Regions from separate parts of the Homo sapiens genome. Here regions 2 and 3 are each linked to region 1. The links are contacts of gene promoters, found by promoter capture Hi-C in human tissues and cell types (Jung and others, 2019). All regions are on one chromosome and are shown on one strand. The core of a region is centred on a gene start or on the middle of the fragment in contact, and the rest is flanking DNA. Distances in the headings are between cores, read along the strand shown.

Region 1 (2,746 bases), core at 1-2,500:
TGGATCAAAGCAGACATGCGGCCGGCGCTCTGCGATCCAAGGCACACTGGGGTCTTTCATCCGGTGTTTTTAAAAAGGAGGAAACAAAAGGCTCAGAGGCAGGGCCCCAGGTGCGCTCGCCCGCGGGGGCTGCGGCGCGGACGACCGAAGGTAACAGGCACGTCCCGGCCGAACTTCGAGACCCGGGCCCGGCAGCCGCCCCGGCGGGGAAGTTTCGTTTCCCGGACAGGGGAAGCCGAAGCGCCTCCTCGGGACAGGACCCCGCGCCGCCGGGACGCGCAGCCTTGATACAAACGTCCTTGGGTGGCCGAGGAGTCCAGGAGTCGTTGCAGTCGTGGTCTCGGGGTTACTGGGGATTGGGGGTGAGCCGGTAGAGACTGCGGAGCCCCGAGCACCACTCGGCCACCAGACAGGACCGGGGCCCCGCTCCTTTCCTCTTTTACTTTGATTACGGTTGGAGAGGTTGGGTTTTGTGGTCGCAGCCCCACCTCGCCTGACCTCCCATTCGCGGGCTGGGACAAAGGCGGCTGCAGCCGTGTCCAGCAGGCAGGGGACAGCCCCGCGCGGGCCCGACGCCCCCTCTGACCACCCGCCCGGGCTCGCGGGAGGGGAGAAAGGTACGACCGAGTCCCTGTTCGCAGGACAGGGGCCAACCTGTCCCCGCACGCGTCAGGACACCCGGTCCTGCTCCCAGCGCGGCCGGGAAGTTCTTTCGGGACCTGGGGCAAAAAAACCTTTCCACCTTCGGGACCCGAGTCTCCCAGTCGTCCAGAGGAGGACGGTCCCTCCCTGTCCCGCGAGCCCCGCAGCCCGCGCTCTCCGGGCAGGTACCCACCAGTAGCCGTCCGAGTTCTGGTCGGTGATCACGCCGCGCCGAGAATAGTACATCCTGCTGGTGCCCCCGCCGCCGCTGGTCACCTCGTAGCGCAGGTCCGGGCCAGACTCGGCGCGGATCATGCGGCCCAGAGTGTTGATCCGCGGGTGGGAGCCTCCGTTGCAGCTCATGTCGGCGGGCAATCGGGAGAGCGGCTCAGCGCCGAGGCATAAGCGAGGCGGGCCGGCGCGGAGAAAGCGGAGGGGGCCAAGGATAGGCGGACGGCCGGGGAACCGGGCGGGAGTGCGGAAGGCTCGCGAGGTCGCTGCTCGCTACCTGGGCCCTCCCGAGGCCGCTGCGAGCGCGGAGACGGCGACGGGCCGGGGGCAGGAGCGGGAGGAAAGCTGTGGCTCGGAGGGCGGCAAGGGCGCAGAGGAGCTGCGTCGGAGCTGGGTGTTGGTGTTGGTCGGCGGCGGAGCGAGTCTCCTCCCCGCTGGCACTGGGCGCCTAGGCCACACCTGGCCGGTTTCTTCCCAGGGTGGGGTGCGGCCGCCGCGCCTTCCCCGCCCCCCCGCGGGTGTCACCGACGCGCTCCGGCCGCCCCTCCCCACCTGCGCCCGCCGCCCGCGACTCCGCCCTGCGCCACCGAGGCCTGAGTAACACCGGGCGGGGCGGGGGCGGGGTCCCCGAGACCCAAGCGCCCTGGGCGAAGCCACCGCGGGGAGGACCTGCGCTCGCGGGGGCTGCTGCGCTCTGCGCTGGGGCCTCTCGGGCTGGGAATGCGTGGCCCGGCTTTTGAGGATTTCCTCGGTCCCCGGGCGGAAATAGCTGGAATGGAGGGGCCTCTCGATTGGAGACTTACTGGTCAAATATTTACTTTTGTTGATCACTGGAAACGCTACCTACCACGCATTGACTAGGACCACAGTGAGGAGGGAACGCTTTAGATGATAGAGTTTTGTTTGGGGGCTTTTTTTTGTTTTGTTTTATTCCAGGAATTCAGGAAATTGCCCCAGAAGTCCGATTTCTGATGTGTAAAACCTTTTTTTACAGAAAACCACGACTTCCTGGAAAAGTCTTCACCGTAAATATTAATCTCTTTGGCATGAAGAGGAAAACACTGCAGCTAATTTTTCATGGGATAACAAAAATATAAACTGCAATTTCTTTTATTTTTTCCCTTTCGATGGTCTTTTTAAACGAGGAGTAAAGATTTCAACGCCAGGTCCATTTTCCAAATTTTGTACCAGAACCTTGAGGATGCTTGTCTCTCGCGCGCTTCTCCGCAGACCGAACCCTCTCCGGAACTCAGAGCTGTTCACCCAAGTCAGCGGAGGAGGCCTCCTGGGACTTGAGCCTGAGGGTGGCGAAGAACCCTAGGCAGAGATCATCAACTTGGTACCGATGAGTGACGCGGAGCTTGAACATTCCAGCGACTTGCTCCAGGGCCACTCCCAGTTAAGAGGCTGAGTGTTAACTGCAAGAGGCTGAGTGTTAACTACGCCGTTGGCTCCAGGAACCGAACCGGGTTTGGATACAGACCCAGTCACACCATCCATGAAAAGCTGTTTCTATAATATGAAAAATTGTTAAATGACGCTTTAGTAAAAGCCATTTAAAGATCTTTTCTAATAAATTTTTCATCTTTCCAAACAATGCCGCTAATTACCTTCTGATACAGTGCGTTTCCAAAATGTTTATGAACTGAAAACAAAAATAAAAAACTACATTTTTATGTTGTAAAGGGAGTGGGGGGGACTTTCTAAAATTTGTCGTATTATAGCACTTCTCATGACAACTTGACCCTTTAGGCATAATTTTTGACAAAATGTCTTGTTCTTTTTCTTTTTACAGCTGAACGTCTTAAATTCAAGGAGTAAACACATATAATGAGATAAAAGTTTATCACTGTTAGCACAACCAATAATTTGC
Region 2 (2,746 bases), core at 84-2,583, 200 kb after region 1:
AGCCAACTGATCTTCAACAAAGCAAACAAAAACATAAAGTGGGGAAAGCACACCCTATTCAACAAATGGTGCTGGGATAATTGGCAAGCCACATGTAGAAGAATGAAACTGGATCCTCATCTCTCAACTTATATACAAAAATCAACTCAAGATGGATCAAGGACTTAAATCTAAGACCTGAAACCATAAAAATCCTAGAAGATAACATCAGAAAAACCCTTCTCGACATTGGCTTAAGCAAAGACTTCATGACCAAGAACCCAAAAGCAAATGCAACAAAAACAATGATTAACACATTCATTGAGGAGAAGGGTGGCAGAGCAGTTCCCTGAGCACTGACAGTCAAGGACAGTTTGTTCAGTGAGGCTTTAGACTGGAGAGAAGATAAGTGAAAACAGAGACAGAGGTGACAGCCAGCCTGCAGGAGCCACTACAGATACCCGGAGTATGAGTCATCAGTCAGACACCCTTCCTGTGCCATCTGGCCAGATGAGAGGCCAGGTCCTCAGAGACCAGAGCATCTATACCCAGCTGTTGAGATGATGCTGCACTTGCGGTAGACCATGAGGGAGTACTTCATGCAGCTGATGAGCAGGCAGGGCCCTGCCGCTGGAAGAATGGAGGCACACTCAGGCCATCCGTGAGCATGAAGCCCTTCTGGGTCGCTTAATGTGCCAGATGATCCAGCTCCTATAGTCTGGGGCCATAAGTGGCCTGGAGCTCCAAGTGCCTCTTCCTTCCCAGGACTCTAGGGGTGATGTCAGATATGGGCAGGGGGCCCAACTGTCCAGGCAGCCTGATCCAGTTCCCCAACTGAGTGATTGTGAAGCTGCCTTCATCAGCCGTGACCTATCCAACTGTGGGATTGACATCTCTGTCTTCTATTAGTCGAGCTTCCAGGACTACAATGCCTACCAAAAAGACAAATATCATAAGGACAAGAACACCTTGAGCTTCGTTAACCTTGGCACCAGTGAGAACAAGCTCTGCATAGATCTGATGACTGAAAGATTGCAAGAAAGTGACACGAACGGCATTGAGGACATCTTGCTGCAGTACCCTGATTGGAGAGGGCACCCGTTCCTGCAAGAAGAAGTGGCCCAGTTCCTGACCTACTAGTGCAAGGCACCTGCCCGACTTGATCCAGAAAATGTGGTTGTTCTAAATGGCTGCTGCTCTGTCTTCTCTGCACTGGCCATGGTTCTGTGTGATCCAAGCGAGGCCTTCCTGGCGCCTGCTCCCTTCTATAGTGGCTTTGACTTTAGCTCCTGCCTGTACGTGAAGGTTGAGTTGATTCCTGTCCACCTGGAGAGTGAGATCACTGTTGCAAACACCCATCTGTTCCACCTTGCTGTGGACAAGTTAGAGGAAGCCCTGCTTAAAGCTAGGCCTGAGAGGAAAAAGGTCCGAGGCCTTGTGCTAATCAACCCTCAGAATCTTCTGGGTGACATCTACTCCTCAGACTCGCGATGGAATACCTGGAATTTGCCAAGAGGTATAACCTACATGTGATCATAGATGAGATTTACATGCTATCTGTGTTTTTGATGAATCCATCACATTCCACAGTGTCCTAAGCATGAAAAGTCTGCCTGATCACAACAGGACCCATGTGATCTGGGACACCAGTAAGGATTTTGGCATCTCTGGCTTCCTCTTTGGTACTCTGTTTACACCCACCACAAGGAGATGGCTTCTGCTGTGAGCACCTTTGGCTACCTCCACAGTATCTCTGGCATCACCTAGCACAAGCTGTGTCAACTGCTCCAGAACACAGAATGGATTGACAAAGTGTACCTGCCCACCAATAACTACCGGCTGTGGGAAGCTCACAAGTACATCACTGCCAAGCTAAAGGCATTGGAGATCCCCTTTCACAGCTGCAGCTCTGGCCTCTATATCTGGATCAACTTGAAAAAGTACCTGGATCCCTGTACATTTGAAGAGCAACAGCTCCTCTCTCCGCTTCCTGGACAACAAGCTGTTGTTATCCTGTGGCAAAGCCTGTATGTATAAGGAGCCAGGCCGGTTCCACCTCATCTTTGCAGACGAGCTCCCCCCGGCTAAAATTGGCCATACATCAGTTCTGTGGTGTGCTGCAGGAACAGAAGCAGGCTTTGCTAGTGAAGCAGTTGGAAGATGCATTGAGGGAGTAGACTGTCTGCCTCCCAACGAGTAGCTCTAGCCCATCACTTGCTCAGGGACCCCCTAATGTCAGCCCCTGGTCCAGAAGCCTGGGGTGTATTTTTGTCAGTGCTGCAACTAAGAAAATTGTGGGCTCCTCCAGGAAGATCTCATCTGACCCAGTCATCACCCTCCTTAAGCTGAGTGCCTGCTGTCTTTGGAAGCTTTGCATCTTTTTAGTGTTTGCTAGATATTATATATGCAAAATGTTTTTATTGGGGTTGGGGTGGGAAGGCCTGGAGGCACCTACAGAAATAAAGGAAGCTCCCTGGGCCCCTATTTAGATGGTTTATTTTTATATTCAATATCTAATAAATTCTATGTTCTCTTAAAAAACTGATAAATAGGTGGAACTTAATTAAAAGTTTCTGCGCAGCAAAAGCAATAATCAGCAAAGTAAACAGACAACCCACAGAGTGGGAGAAAATCTTCACACTCCGTACATCTGACAAAGGGCTAATATACAGAATCTACAAGGAACTCAAACAAATTAACAAGAAAAAAACAATCCCATCAAAAAGTGGGCTAAGGACATGAATACACAATTCTTAAAAGAAGATAT
Region 3 (2,746 bases), core at 145-2,644, 160 kb after region 1:
AACTATAAGGAACAATAAAACAATATTCGGTGGACACATAAAGGAGGGGAATACAGGGTCTGGTTTTCCCAGTTTCGCTAGCGTAAGATACATTTTGACCAGCCTGGGCAACATGGTGAGACCCCATCTCTGCTAAAAATATAAAAATTAGCCAGGCATGGAAGCGAGCACCTGTAATCCCAGCTACTCTGGAGGCTGAGACAGGAGAATCACTTGAACCTGGGAGGTAGAGGTTACAGGGAGCCAAGATCGCGCCACTGCACTCCAGCCTATGCGAGAGAGCAAGGTACATTTTTACACACAGTGTTAAAACTGATCCTTTCTAGCCAGGAGTGCAGCCAGGGGACGTGACCAATTCAGTCAGAGGCAGGACAAGAGCCCAAGGAACCTGACTTCTAGTCTAATGCATCTTCCACTTACATCAGTATGCAAATGATTCAGTTGTCATTCATAATGACATTGACAGCACCCTGCATATAAATGACAACTTTCCTGTCTTCATGAAAATGCCTAGCTCCCTTTATTAAAAAATAAAAGATTGTAATGTCCCAATATCTTCATGAGTGTTGTGCTAAACGTTTGATAGTCAGTGACATCTGATTCCACTAAATAGGAATTTATAAAAATACATCAAAGATATATGCCTGTTTTATATATCTTCAGTGTTAAAAGACTGAAATAACCATCTTAATGCTGTTTAGACTAGATTTAATAAACATCAAATAATTATCAATACATAAATATGCTATCACGTATCCCTAAGTTTATAGTCACATGATTTGACTTACCAAAAAACCAAAATATTAAAATAACAAGCTATTTGTTACATTGTTGTTTAATATTGGGACTCTGTTAGCATAGTTTTACTAAAAGGGAGCCAAATACATGCTGGGGAAAGATACTAGAAAGCACATTCTACCTATGTAATGAAATATTCTAATAGCAGAATTATGTAACAATGTGCAAATACCTTTAGAAGAAGCTTGTGATGTTTGCTTGAAGTATTGATGCCTTTTTTATTAATACAGAACGAAATAAAGAATTTTGAAAGGGAAAATGAGTATGAATCCACACTTTGTGAAGATGCTTATGGCACACTAGACAATTTGTTAAATGGTAAGTATCTACTTGTTAGCAATATGCAAAAGAGAGAAACTTTTTTTTGTGTTCCGTGATAGTAACAATAGCCAGGTTTTGTGCTAAGCACTTTATATACATCATCACACTTAATCCACAAAAAAATCTTATTGAAATAAGAATTTTAAAAAATTGAAGTAAGGGCTGTTTTTATCTTCATTTTACAGATAAGGAAAATAAGGCTCAGAGAGTAACTTGCCCAGGATTGTGTAGCTTTAAATGAATGAGCCGTGATCAAGTCTCAGACTCAGACACAAAAATTTTCTACTATACAAGTATCCTTAAATGTGTATTGAGGTTGGGTGTGGTGGATCATATCTATAATACCAGTGCTTTGGAAGGCCAAGGCAGGAGGATTGCTTGAGCCAGGAAGTCCAAGGCTGTTATGAGCTATGATCATGTCACTGCACTCCAGTGGGCAACAGAAGGAGAACCTGTCTCTTAAAAAAAAAAAGCGGGGGCCAGGCACGGTGGCTCACGCCTGTAATCCCAGCACTTTGGGAGGCTGAGGCAAGTGGATCACCTGAGGTCGGGAGTTCAAGACCAGCCTGACCAACATGGAGAAACCCCGTCTCCAGTAAAAATACAAAATTAGCTGAGTGTGGTGGTGCATGCCTGTAATCCCAGCTACTTGGGAGGCTTAGGCAGGAGACTCCCTTGAACCCAGGAGGTGGAGGTTGCTGTGAGCCGAGATTGCACCATTGCGCTCCAGCCTGGGCAACAAGAGCGAAACTCCATCTCAAAAAAAACCAAAACAAACAAAAAACACCAGGTACAGTGGCTCACACCTGTAATCCCAGCTCTTTGGGAGGCCAAGGCAGAAGGATTGCTTGAGTCCACTAGTTTGAAATCAGATTGGGCAATAGGACGAAACCCCGTCTCTACTAAAAATACAAAAAATTAGCCAGGCATCGTGGTCCATTTTGGAGGCCTGGGTGGGAGAATTACCTGAGCGCGGGAGGCTGAGACTGCAGTGAGCCGAGATCACGCCACTGCACTGCAGCATGGGCAACCATAGTGAGACCTTGTCTCAAAAAAAAAAAAGAGAGCTGTGTGTTGATTTAACCCCAAATCTGTTATTCTAATCCTAAATTGACAGATGAAAGCTATTTAGGATTTAATCATATAATGAGATACATTGATCATGTTTTTGGTTTTGTTTTTGAAATGGATCTCACTATGCTGCCCAGGCTGGTCTCAAATTCCTGGGCTCAAGTGAGTCTCCTGCCTCGGTGTCCCAAAGTGTTGGGATTACAGGTATCAGCCACCACACCGGGCCCTACACTGATCATGTTTATTAAAGTAAATCTAAATGCTGTATACAAATGTCTTTATTTTTAATACTTGCAAATAATACTAAAATGAAAAGATTTGACAAGGCTTATTGAAATTATGGAATTTAATACATGCAGGTGTAAGAAAAATAAGCGCTGCCGAGGCAGGCGGATCACGAGGTCAGGAGATCGAGACCATCCTGGCTAACATGGTGAAACCCCGTGTCTACTAAAAATACAAAAAATTAGCCGGGCATGATGGTGGGCGCCTGTAGTCCCAGCTACTCAGGAGGCTGAGGCAGGAGAATGGCATGAACCCAGGGGGTGGAGCTTGC

What was found. Contacts are between HindIII fragments. The study calls those that stand out against the background at their distance.
Region 2: a contact is called between a fragment that was not itself captured here and the fragment with the promoter of DSP in region 1, in 2 of the 25 tissues and cell types used here (liver and mesendoderm cells).
Region 3: a fragment that was not itself captured here is called in contact with the fragment with the promoter of DSP in region 1 in 1 of the 25 tissues and cell types used here (neural progenitor cells).

What each region holds. Positions count from the first base shown.
Region 1 is chr6:7,540,175-7,542,920 of GRCh38, reverse strand. It overlaps DSP (desmoplakin), which reads right to left and starts at 1,250. Exons shown (of 24, transcript NM_004415.4): 1 at 836-1,250. The coding sequence starts at 1,005. It overlaps DSP-AS1 (DSP antisense RNA 1), which reads left to right. Exons shown (of 2, transcript NR_183331.1): 2 at 1,868-2,470. The HindIII fragment of the contact is 11,377 bases long and covers 1-2,746 here.
Region 2 is chr6:7,340,211-7,342,956 of GRCh38, reverse strand. The region is part of intron 11 of CAGE1 (cancer antigen 1); the gene reads left to right. It also overlaps the pseudogene ACCSLP1. Among named protein-coding and RNA genes, the nearest start is that of SSR1, 28 kb to the right of the region's middle. RefSeq lists a silencer at 384-546. The HindIII fragment of the contact is 7,681 bases long and covers 1-2,746 here.
Region 3 is chr6:7,384,155-7,386,900 of GRCh38, reverse strand. CAGE1 (cancer antigen 1) reads left to right here. Exons shown (of 14, transcript NM_001170692.2): 3 at 1,029-1,116. Among named protein-coding and RNA genes, the nearest start is that of CAGE1, 4.2 kb to the left of the region's middle. The HindIII fragment of the contact is 6,466 bases long and covers 1-2,746 here.